3 separate regions of the Homo sapiens genome follow, and regions 2 and 3 are each linked to region 1. Evidence: promoter capture Hi-C in human tissues and cell types (Jung and others, 2019). All regions are on one chromosome and are shown on one strand. Each heading gives the region's core, a stretch centred on a gene start or on the middle of the fragment in contact. The rest is flanking DNA. Distances are from core to core; before and after follow the strand shown.

Region 1 (2,913 bases), core at 291-2,790:
TACAGTAAATATACACAGAATGTCCCTTGGAAAGTTGTAAGTGGAGTTAAAGGCAGGCCCTCAGGTTAAGGATAACAGTTCTAGGCCATTTGAGGCTGTGGTTCATTTTGTGAACCTGCAAACACCCATCCCAGTTACCTTCATATGTACGTTGCTCCTGATGTACAGACATCCAGACTTAGCACAAAACAGCAGCACTCACTGTGCACTCCCACTCAGGGGTGCGCGTCTATGGGTTTTATGCGTGTTAATGCATTTCACCCTCCTCACAAGCCTATCTTCAGAAGGCTCAAAAAGCTAAGAGGCAGAAACAGGACTCAAATCTTGGTCATCTACCTTTAATGTTTGGTCTTAAGTCTTATAAACACATATCATTTAATATAAAAAAAAAAGGATACTCACCTGACCCTTTCAGATGTTTAACGATTCGTCTTCCTCCTCGGGGATGCTTTTTCTGAAGGATGCTGGCCTGGGGAAAACAGAACCGGAAGGGTAACACCTGCCATACCTAATAAAACCAATGAGAAATACGAGGCCCCGAGATGGAGTTTCTGGGAGATTCCTGAAGAGCACGCTGTGGCGATTGAGATGATGACGCGTGGAGCTGCCCCCCTCCCTGTCTCCCACATCAGGGACCTGTCCCTCTACAGGAGGAATTCTACTCCTGAGGCCACCGTCCCCTGTCACTCAGGTGGCCTGCATGCACAGCACTTCTGGCTCTGAAAGCGTCACCTCATGGCTGTTTCTGCCTTCTTGCTGGTGAATTTCCAGGCGAGGCTCAGGCGCTCACGTCCCTCCGCGGCCCTTGTTCTCAGGCAGGTACCGCTTGGTTAGGAGGTGAAGGCAGGGGAAGCAGCAGAGACGCTGGAGCTACAAGTTGCACTGTCACACACACCTGCATCACTCAGAAGGCCCGATCATCCATCCCAGCACAGAGACGCTGAAGCTACAGGTTGTGTTGTCACACACACCTGCGTCACCCAGAAGGCCCGATCACCCATCCCAGCACAAGTCTGCACAGCTCAGCCTCACCACAGCTCACTCTGTCCTGAGACACATCTGCGCCCCTCATACCCACTAACGCCCAGCACGGCCATGCTACGGGCCCCACCACCCCACACGGTGCAGAGGTGCATCCGTGGGCCACGGAGACCCGTCCCGACCGCTGCCCCCGCACAACCCCCAGAGCGCACCTCACGGAGCAGAGTCCCAGGGACGCACCGCCGAGGTTCACAGGCACGGGCTGCGTTGACCCAAAGCCTCTGGAGCACCCCCGGTCACCAGTTATGGGGAGAGCCCGGCTGTGTCACCCCACACTCTCCAGCAAGTGCGTCACCGTCAGAAGCCCCGTGCCCGTCTCCCCTCGGAGCCACGCGCACCAATCTCACCTGCGCGGACTGGCGGAGATGCAGCGGCTGCGTCACTGGTGCAAACGCGCACCCAGCACGGCCCCCATCGCCCCCAATGACGCTCGCGTGCACCCGTGTCACAGTTACGGGGACAGGGCCGCCGCGTCAGCCTCGTACTCCCACGCAAGTGCGTCACACACTCGGTCCCGCCACCCCCTGGAGGCCAGCGCGCATGCGCACGCGCACCCAGCGGCCGCAGCGCGCAGACAGCAGCAGAGCCCGACACGCATGTGCACACAGACCCCTACACGTATGTGCACGTACCCAGACCCCGACACGTATGTGAGCGTACACAGACCCCCGATACATAGCGTGCTCAGCTGTTGACGTGCCTGTGCGGGCACACAGACCCTGACGGGCGTGTGCGCACGCACAGATGCCGACACGCATGTGCAGACACAACAGAGCCCGACACACACGTGCGCCTGCACAGATGCTGACACGCGGACACACTGACACGTGTGCGTGCACCCCTCCCATCCCTTTCCCTCCTCCCACTCTCCCAAAGCCGCAGACGCACCCGGTAGTCCCCCAACGCTGGGGCCTCGGGAGAGGGTGAGGCTAGAAGAGGACGCGGGGCCGTCGGGGGAAACCAGAGCCCCAAGCCCCGTGTTCCAGCATGCAGCACGGCGTACTCCTGGATGGTCTCTGGGAAATGTAGTCCGGGACGGTCCCAGGCAGGGGCCTCAGGGCGCGTCCCAGGTCGGTGCCGGAGCGGGCAGCCCCAAGCTAAGCCCTTCCTGGTCCCTGCAGACGCCCCTTCCCGACTGGGAAAGGAGCTGTGTCACCCCAGCTGGGACCCCGTCTGGCCTCTTGAGTGGGGTGATGCCGGGCGAGCCATGGCTGTCCTCAGAAGGGTATCCTCTCCTAGCCCCTCTGGAGCGTCACCTGGAATTCTCTGCAGGCCGCTAGCACAGGCTGCCGGAGCTGCTATTCGGTGTCCCTTGCTTGCTGCATTGTAAACAATGTACAGGTAGCAGTTATGCCCCGTGAGTCCCGCTCTCATTCCAAGTACTAACGTCACAGGGTCTACAGGATGTTGCAGGTACTTAACCACAGTCTCATTTTGACTCAAAATCCCACTTTTTGGTATTTATGCCAAGGAAGTAGCTATAGTTGTACACAATGTTGAAGTATGTTCACAAAATGCTTTTTTTCTGAAAATCTTTTTCTCTTTTAATTAGATAGACTTTAGATTCATATGTAGTTACAAGAAATAAAATTGAGAGATCTTGTGTACCTTTCACCTGGTTACCTCAGCTGGTGATTGTAGTATATAATACCACAACCAGAAGATTAACATTGATGTAATCCACTGACGTTACCCAGAATTTCCAGAGAATAATTTTTTGTTTGTTTGTTTGTTTGTTTTGAGACGGAGTTTCGCTCTTGTTGCCCAGGCTCAAGTGCAATGGTGCGATCTCGGCTCACTGCAACCTCCGCCTCCTGGGTTCAAGGGGTTCTCCTGCGTCAGCCTCCCCAGTAGCTGGGATGACAGGCATGC
Region 2 (2,874 bases), core at 66-2,565, 1.0 Mb after region 1:
CATTTTGTACCCCTCTTCTCTTCTGCTGTTTATCCCCCTTCTTCCCTCTATTCCTTCTCTTCCATCTCTTCTGCTCCATCCTCGCAACTTATTTAACCTCTTATTGCTCCTTCTCCCCAATCTTTCAATCGTCCTCAATCTCCATCTATTTCTGCCTCTTCACCCATCTCTGCGCCTCCTCTGCTCTCCCTGTTAAATTCTCTCTTCCCTGATATACTCCCCTGTCCCCACTCTGTGTCACCCCAGATCCCCAGGTGTCCTCCCTGCTGTGTTTCTCCCTCGGTTCTCCTTGACACCAGCACCACTCTGCTCTGTCTGCCCTGGCTCCAAATCCCTCCCTCTCTCCCTCACTCTGATGAGCCTCCCTCTTTGCTGCCACTCTCCCTACCTTGCCGTCCTTCATCTCTGTGTACATCTAGCTTTTCTCTACATTTCTCCAGTTGCTTTTCTCCACCTGCTTTTCTAGGTATTTTGTTGCTTTCTTTTTCCACTTTCACCATATCTTGGCATATCCCTCACCAATCCTCTATTTTGCCATCTGTTATGGGCCTTTCTTATTCTTTCTCTGTCTCAGGTTTTCTACTGCTGTCTGTCTCCTGATCCCTTCGGCCCACACAATCGCAGGAGGGTTTGGAGTAAGACGCCTGCATCCCGGAGGAGCGCGTTTTCCAAGGGCTGGAGCTCGGCAGGCAAGAAGACCCCATGTCACAGGACAGGGCCCTGCGTCCTTCCCAGTGTGGGTTCAATGGAAGCGGTGACTGCGGAGGAGAGACCTGGGGAGCCGCAGGCTCTGGCACGAGTAGGGAGGTGGGAGGAGGGGGGACGGCGCCTTGGGAGAAGGATGGGGTCTGCAAGATCCCAGGACCAGGCAGAGGACGCGGCCTCCCTGGGACTGGGGCTGCGGCGCGACGCTCCAGGGGCCGACGAGGGGTGGCTGGGAGGTGCGCCCCGGGCAAGAATCCACCTCGTGGGTGAAGACTTTAAATAGCGCGAGGAGGGAAGAGTCAGAAGAAGGTTTTGAGCAGAAAAACTACGCAATAGAAAGTGTATACATTGCCCTATAGCAGACAGACCCGGGACGGGACCAGCCTCCAGACGACTTTAAACCCGAAAGGAAGCGACACCCGGCCTCTCACTGGGCTGTCTCAATTTGCTCTGGGCGAAGGAAGACGGGCGAGAATTTCCAGGTCTGTGGGGACCCCACGTCCCAGGGACAGAAGCGGCGGGGACCTGGGAAGCGGAGACTTAATGCAACACAGAGCAAAACTCACCATGGCGACGTGACCTTCACTCCACCCGATCCGCTTCCGGGTTTGCGTTAATCTCCGCGCGCAGGACGGAAGCCAGGCCTGGGCGGGAGGTGGGAGGAGGTGGGCGGGGCCTGGGCGAGGTAGCGGCGGGGCGCGAGGCGCTGAGACCTTGCCCTTTAGAACCGGCAGAGGGCGGGGCCGGGGCGGGGCCGGGGCGGGACTTGCGCGTCTTTCAGCCTCTCTCCTAGCGTCTCTGTTTTTAGGTTGTGGAGGCGAGAGCGCCAGAAAGTCTGAGGCATGATTCCAAAGCCCTGGAATTGTCTGGAACCGGGATGCAAACTAGAATGTGAAATGCAAAGCCCTGCCTGGGCGGCATGTACGATGTCATGGTGACGGCCCACGGAACAGAATAGATGTCCTCTCCCTTTCTATCTCCATTCACTAGGGAGGGAGAGTCCACCCTGAGCTCAGCTTCAGAGACTTCCTTAAAGCCACCGCCAGGGGTGCGGGACGGAGTGCTTAGGCCAGGAAGGAGTGAGGTCACCACCTGCTGCTTAAACACAGCAGAGGCGCGGGGGCGGGAGCCTCAGGTCCCAGCTACTCAGGAAGCAACGGAGAGAATTGCTGAGCCTGGGGTCCCAAGCCAGCCTGGGCGACAAAGTAACACCCACTGCGGCAGGTCTCCCTTCCTAGTCTCTCTCTCTCTCTTTCCCTTTTTTTTTTTTTGGAGACAGAGTCTCACTCCGTCGCCCAGGCTGGAGTGCCGTGGAGTGATCCCAGCTCACTAGAACTTCCGCCTCCTGGTTTCAAGCGATACTCCGGCCTCAGCCTCCCGAGTAGCTGGGACTACAGGCATGCGCCACCATGCCCAGTTAATTTTGTATATTTAGTAGAGACAGGGTTTCACCATGTTAGCCAGGCTGAACTCCCGACCTCAGGTGATCCGCCCACGTCGGCCTCCCAAAGTGCTGGGATTACAGGCGTGAGCCACCGCGCCCGGGCCTTTTCCCTTTTTAAAAAAAAAAAAAAAACTTTTTTAAATAAAATTTTTGATGGTGTGACATAGGGATCCAACATTACTCTTTTCCATGTGGATATCCAGTTAGTTGTCCCAGCACATTTGTGGAAGAGATCTATTACTTTATTATTATTATTATTATTATTACTATTATTGAGACACAGTATTTCTGTTGCCCAGGCTGGAGTGCAGTGGCGAGATCTCAACTCAATGCAGCCTCTGCCTCCTGGGTTCAAGCGATTCTCCTGCCTCAGCCTCGGGAGCAGCTGGCATTACAGGCGCGTGCCACGATGCCCGGTTAATTTTTGTATTTTTCATAGAGACGGGGTATCACTACGGTGACCTGGCCGGTATCGAACTCCTCACTTTAAGTTATTTGCCTGTGTCAGCCTCCCAAAATGCTGGGATTACATGCGTCAGCCAACATGCCTGGCCCAAGAAATATTCTTTACTTTGCTTTTTAAATGTTGACAAAATATAATTGAAAACTAAAAAATATTATCCCAAATGAGAAATCATCTCCACGACGATAACAGAGAAAGAAATAAAAACCATTTTGTTAATAAATAAACCTTAGGACCGGGCATGGGGGCTCACGCTTGTAAT
Region 3 (2,840 bases), core at 287-2,786, 1.1 Mb after region 1:
TCACCTCAGCTTCCCAAAGTACTGGGATTACACGTGTGAGCCACAGCTCCTAGCCTCATGTGTTCTAAACAAATTTTATATTATAGAAAAATTAATATGTCACAATTCAATCATAATTTCCAATCAACTCACCACTCATCTGTAACCAGGGTCCCCCTCTTTCCTCACTACTGTTTCCCTGCCTCATTCTGTACATATCTCTCATTCTCATCTTTTTTCCTAGCTCTTTTTTTCTCTATTTTCCCCTAGGATTCTGTTCATTTTGAGTCCCTCCTCTTCTCTTTGTCCCATTCTTCCCTCTATTCCTTCTCTCCCACCTGTTCTGATCCATTTTTACAACTTGTTTCACCTCTTATTCCTCTTTCTGCCCAATCTTTCATTGTCCCTAATCTCCATATATTTCTGCCTCTTTCCTCCCACATCTCAGCTCCCCTTGGGGTCTCCCTGTTAAATTCCATCTTCGATATTACACACCCCTGTCCCCACTCTCTGGCACCCTTAGATCCCAGGCCTCCCCCTGCTGTGGTTCTCCCTGTTCTCCTTGTGACCAGCTGCCCCCTCTGGCTGTCCCAGCACCACGCTGCTCTGTCTGACCTGGCTCCAAATCCCTCCTCCTCTCCCCCCTCTGTCTGAGAAGCCTTCCCTATCTTGTTGAATTTCGTCTTTCTACAGACCCAGGTTTGTCTATATTTTTACAGTTACTTTTCTCCCCTGCTATTTTCTCGGCACCTTCTTTCACTGTGCCTCTGCAAACCCCTCACTCACCTTCTACTTTGCCTTCTGTTAATGGGTCTCTCATTCTTCATTTCTCTTTCAAAATTTCTCTATTTCCTCTGCCTCGTTCCCATCTCTTTTTCTCCACACATTCACAGGGAGGGGATTGGAATAAGATGCCCACTTCCGGAAGAGCTCATTTTCTGTGGGCTGGAAACTGGCTCGAGAGAACACTGGATGTCAGGAGACTGAAGTCACCCCCCACACTCGGGGTCAGGAGAACCGGTGGCTGGAAAAGGGAGGCCTGGGGAACAGAGGGTCCAGATTAAGGAGCAAAAAGGCAGGAGTGGGTCAGGAGAGGGGTGGAGTCTGCAGAAACCAGGTCTGGGCAGAGGACGAGGCCTCTCGTGCCCTGTTGGGGCGCTGAGCTCTAGGGGCAAAGAAGGGCGAGGCTAGGGGAACGGAGAGTGAGGATTTTACGTGGTGCGGGGCGTGTGTAGGGGTTACTAAAGGATTTGAAGCAGGTAAACCCCACGATAGGAGGTGTCTACGTGGGTAAATGACAAAAAGACCGGGCACACGACCAGCCTCCAAGCGATTTTAACACGCAGAAAGCGACTCCCAGACTCTCAAAGGATGTCTGAATTTACTCGGGGTGGAGGGAGCGGTGCCGGGATTTCAAGGTCTGCATGCCCCTCAGCTCCCGGGTATAGAAGCAGAGAAGAACTGGCTAGCCTAGACTTAACATAGACAAAGGGAAACTCACGCACTGCTGCGAAAACAGTTTCTCCCTGCAATCGGCTTCCGGGTCTACCGGAAACTGCGCTCTAGGCGTTCGCCCCCCGCGGTCCGCTTCCGGGTTTGCACGAAATTGCGCGCGCATCCTAGAGGCCGGACTGGCTGGGACCAGGGCGGGCCGGGACAAAGCCTGGGCCGGGCCTGCGCTTCCGTTCGCTTGACTGGCTGCGCTTGTTTTCAGGGTTTTGGTCTGAAAACGGATCTTACCTGCGCAGAGCAAAATCGGTTGTAGATTATATCCACGAAAATTCCTTCTATTAAAATGAATTTCAAGTCCCACCTACCCTGGAAGCAGAAAGAGAGAGAAGAGAGAGAGTAAAGAGAAAGAGAAAAGAAAGAGAAGTTGAAAAAGAGAAAGAAAACCAAGAAAGAAAGAGAAAAAAACCGAAAATAAATGGACAAGAAAGAAAAGTAAGGAGGGAAGGGAAGGGAGGAAGGGAAGGGAAGCTTTAGGAATTGAATTAACACACTTTGGAATTGTCTGTGAAGGGGATGATGCAAGCTAAAATGTGAAATGCAAAACCCTGCCAGGGTAGAATGTTCTATTTCATGCCAGTGCCCATAGAAGATAAATACTTTTCATTTATCTTCCCCATTCACTCTAGACGGTGAAGGTCAACCCTGTGCTCAATTCCAGAGACTTTCCTAGGGACATCGTGTTGGGCATGGAGGACTAAGGCCAGTGTGAAGATAAGTCACCGATTCTTTAAAAAAAAAAAGCCAGTAACTTATAAAAATAGCCATAAACGACGTAGTTTTTTGTTGTTGTTGTTGTTTTGAGACAGCGTCTCCCTCTGTCCCCCAGGCGGGAGTACAGTGGCAGGCACTCAGCTCACTGTAACCTCCGCCTCCTGGGTTCAAGTGATTCTCTTGCCCCAGCCTCCAGAGTAGCCACCACGCCCGGTCCAACTTAGTTTTTTAATACTTTTTAAAATTTTAAGACAGGGTCTCTGCCACCGAGGCTGAAATGCAGTGGCGCAATCATAGCTCACTGCAACCTTGACTTCCTGGGGTCCTGGGCAGGTGACCCCCTGTCTCAGCCTGCCGAGTAGCTGTGAGTAAAGGCCTGTGCCTCTCCACTGTGCTAATTTTCTACTGTTTGTTGCTTTGTTTTTAATAGAGATGTAGTCTGGTTTTGTTGCCCAGGCTGGTCTCCAGCTTCTAGCCTCAAGCAGTCTTCCCATCTGCTCCTACCAAAGTGCTCGGATTATAGGCATGAATCACCTTGCATGGGAGATAAGGACCCCCACATCAAGCCCTCAGGTTATTTTTGAAACACAAATACATAAGGCCCACAAGCAGGCCCATTGGCTGCAGACAGTGGGGTC

The links. Contacts are between HindIII fragments. The study calls those that stand out against the background at their distance.
Region 2: a contact is called between the fragment with the promoter of ZNF808 here and the fragment with the promoter of ZNF331 in region 1, in 2 of the 25 tissues and cell types used here (adrenal gland and liver).
Region 3: a contact is called between the fragment with the promoter of ZNF528 here and the fragment with the promoter of ZNF331 in region 1, in 1 of the 25 tissues and cell types used here (dorsolateral prefrontal cortex).

What each region holds. Positions count from the first base shown.
Region 1 is chr19:53,536,772-53,539,684 of GRCh38, reverse strand. It overlaps ZNF331 (zinc finger protein 331), which reads right to left and starts at 1,540. Exons shown (of 6, transcript NM_001079906.2): 1 at 1,389-1,540; 2 at 403-469. RefSeq lists enhancers at 1,461-1,510, 1,296-1,812. The HindIII fragment of the contact is 21,395 bases long and covers 765-2,913 here.
Region 2 is chr19:52,526,109-52,528,982 of GRCh38, reverse strand. ZNF808 (zinc finger protein 808) reads right to left here and starts at 1,315. Exons shown (of 5, transcript NM_001039886.4): 1 at 1,272-1,315. RefSeq lists enhancers at 1,042-1,869, 1,870-2,696. The HindIII fragment of the contact is 14,459 bases long and covers 1-2,874 here.
Region 3 is chr19:52,396,545-52,399,384 of GRCh38, reverse strand. It overlaps ZNF528 (zinc finger protein 528), which reads right to left and starts at 1,536. Exons shown (of 7, transcript NM_032423.3): 1 at 1,481-1,536; 2 at 766-1,018. ZNF528-AS1 (ZNF528 antisense RNA 1) reads left to right here and starts at 1,628. Exons shown (of 7, transcript NR_125345.1): 1 at 1,628-1,923; 2 at 2,118-2,190; 3 at 2,633-2,775. It also overlaps a transcript of ZNF880 not described here. RefSeq lists an enhancer at 1,025-2,224. The HindIII fragment of the contact is 17,909 bases long and covers 1-2,840 here.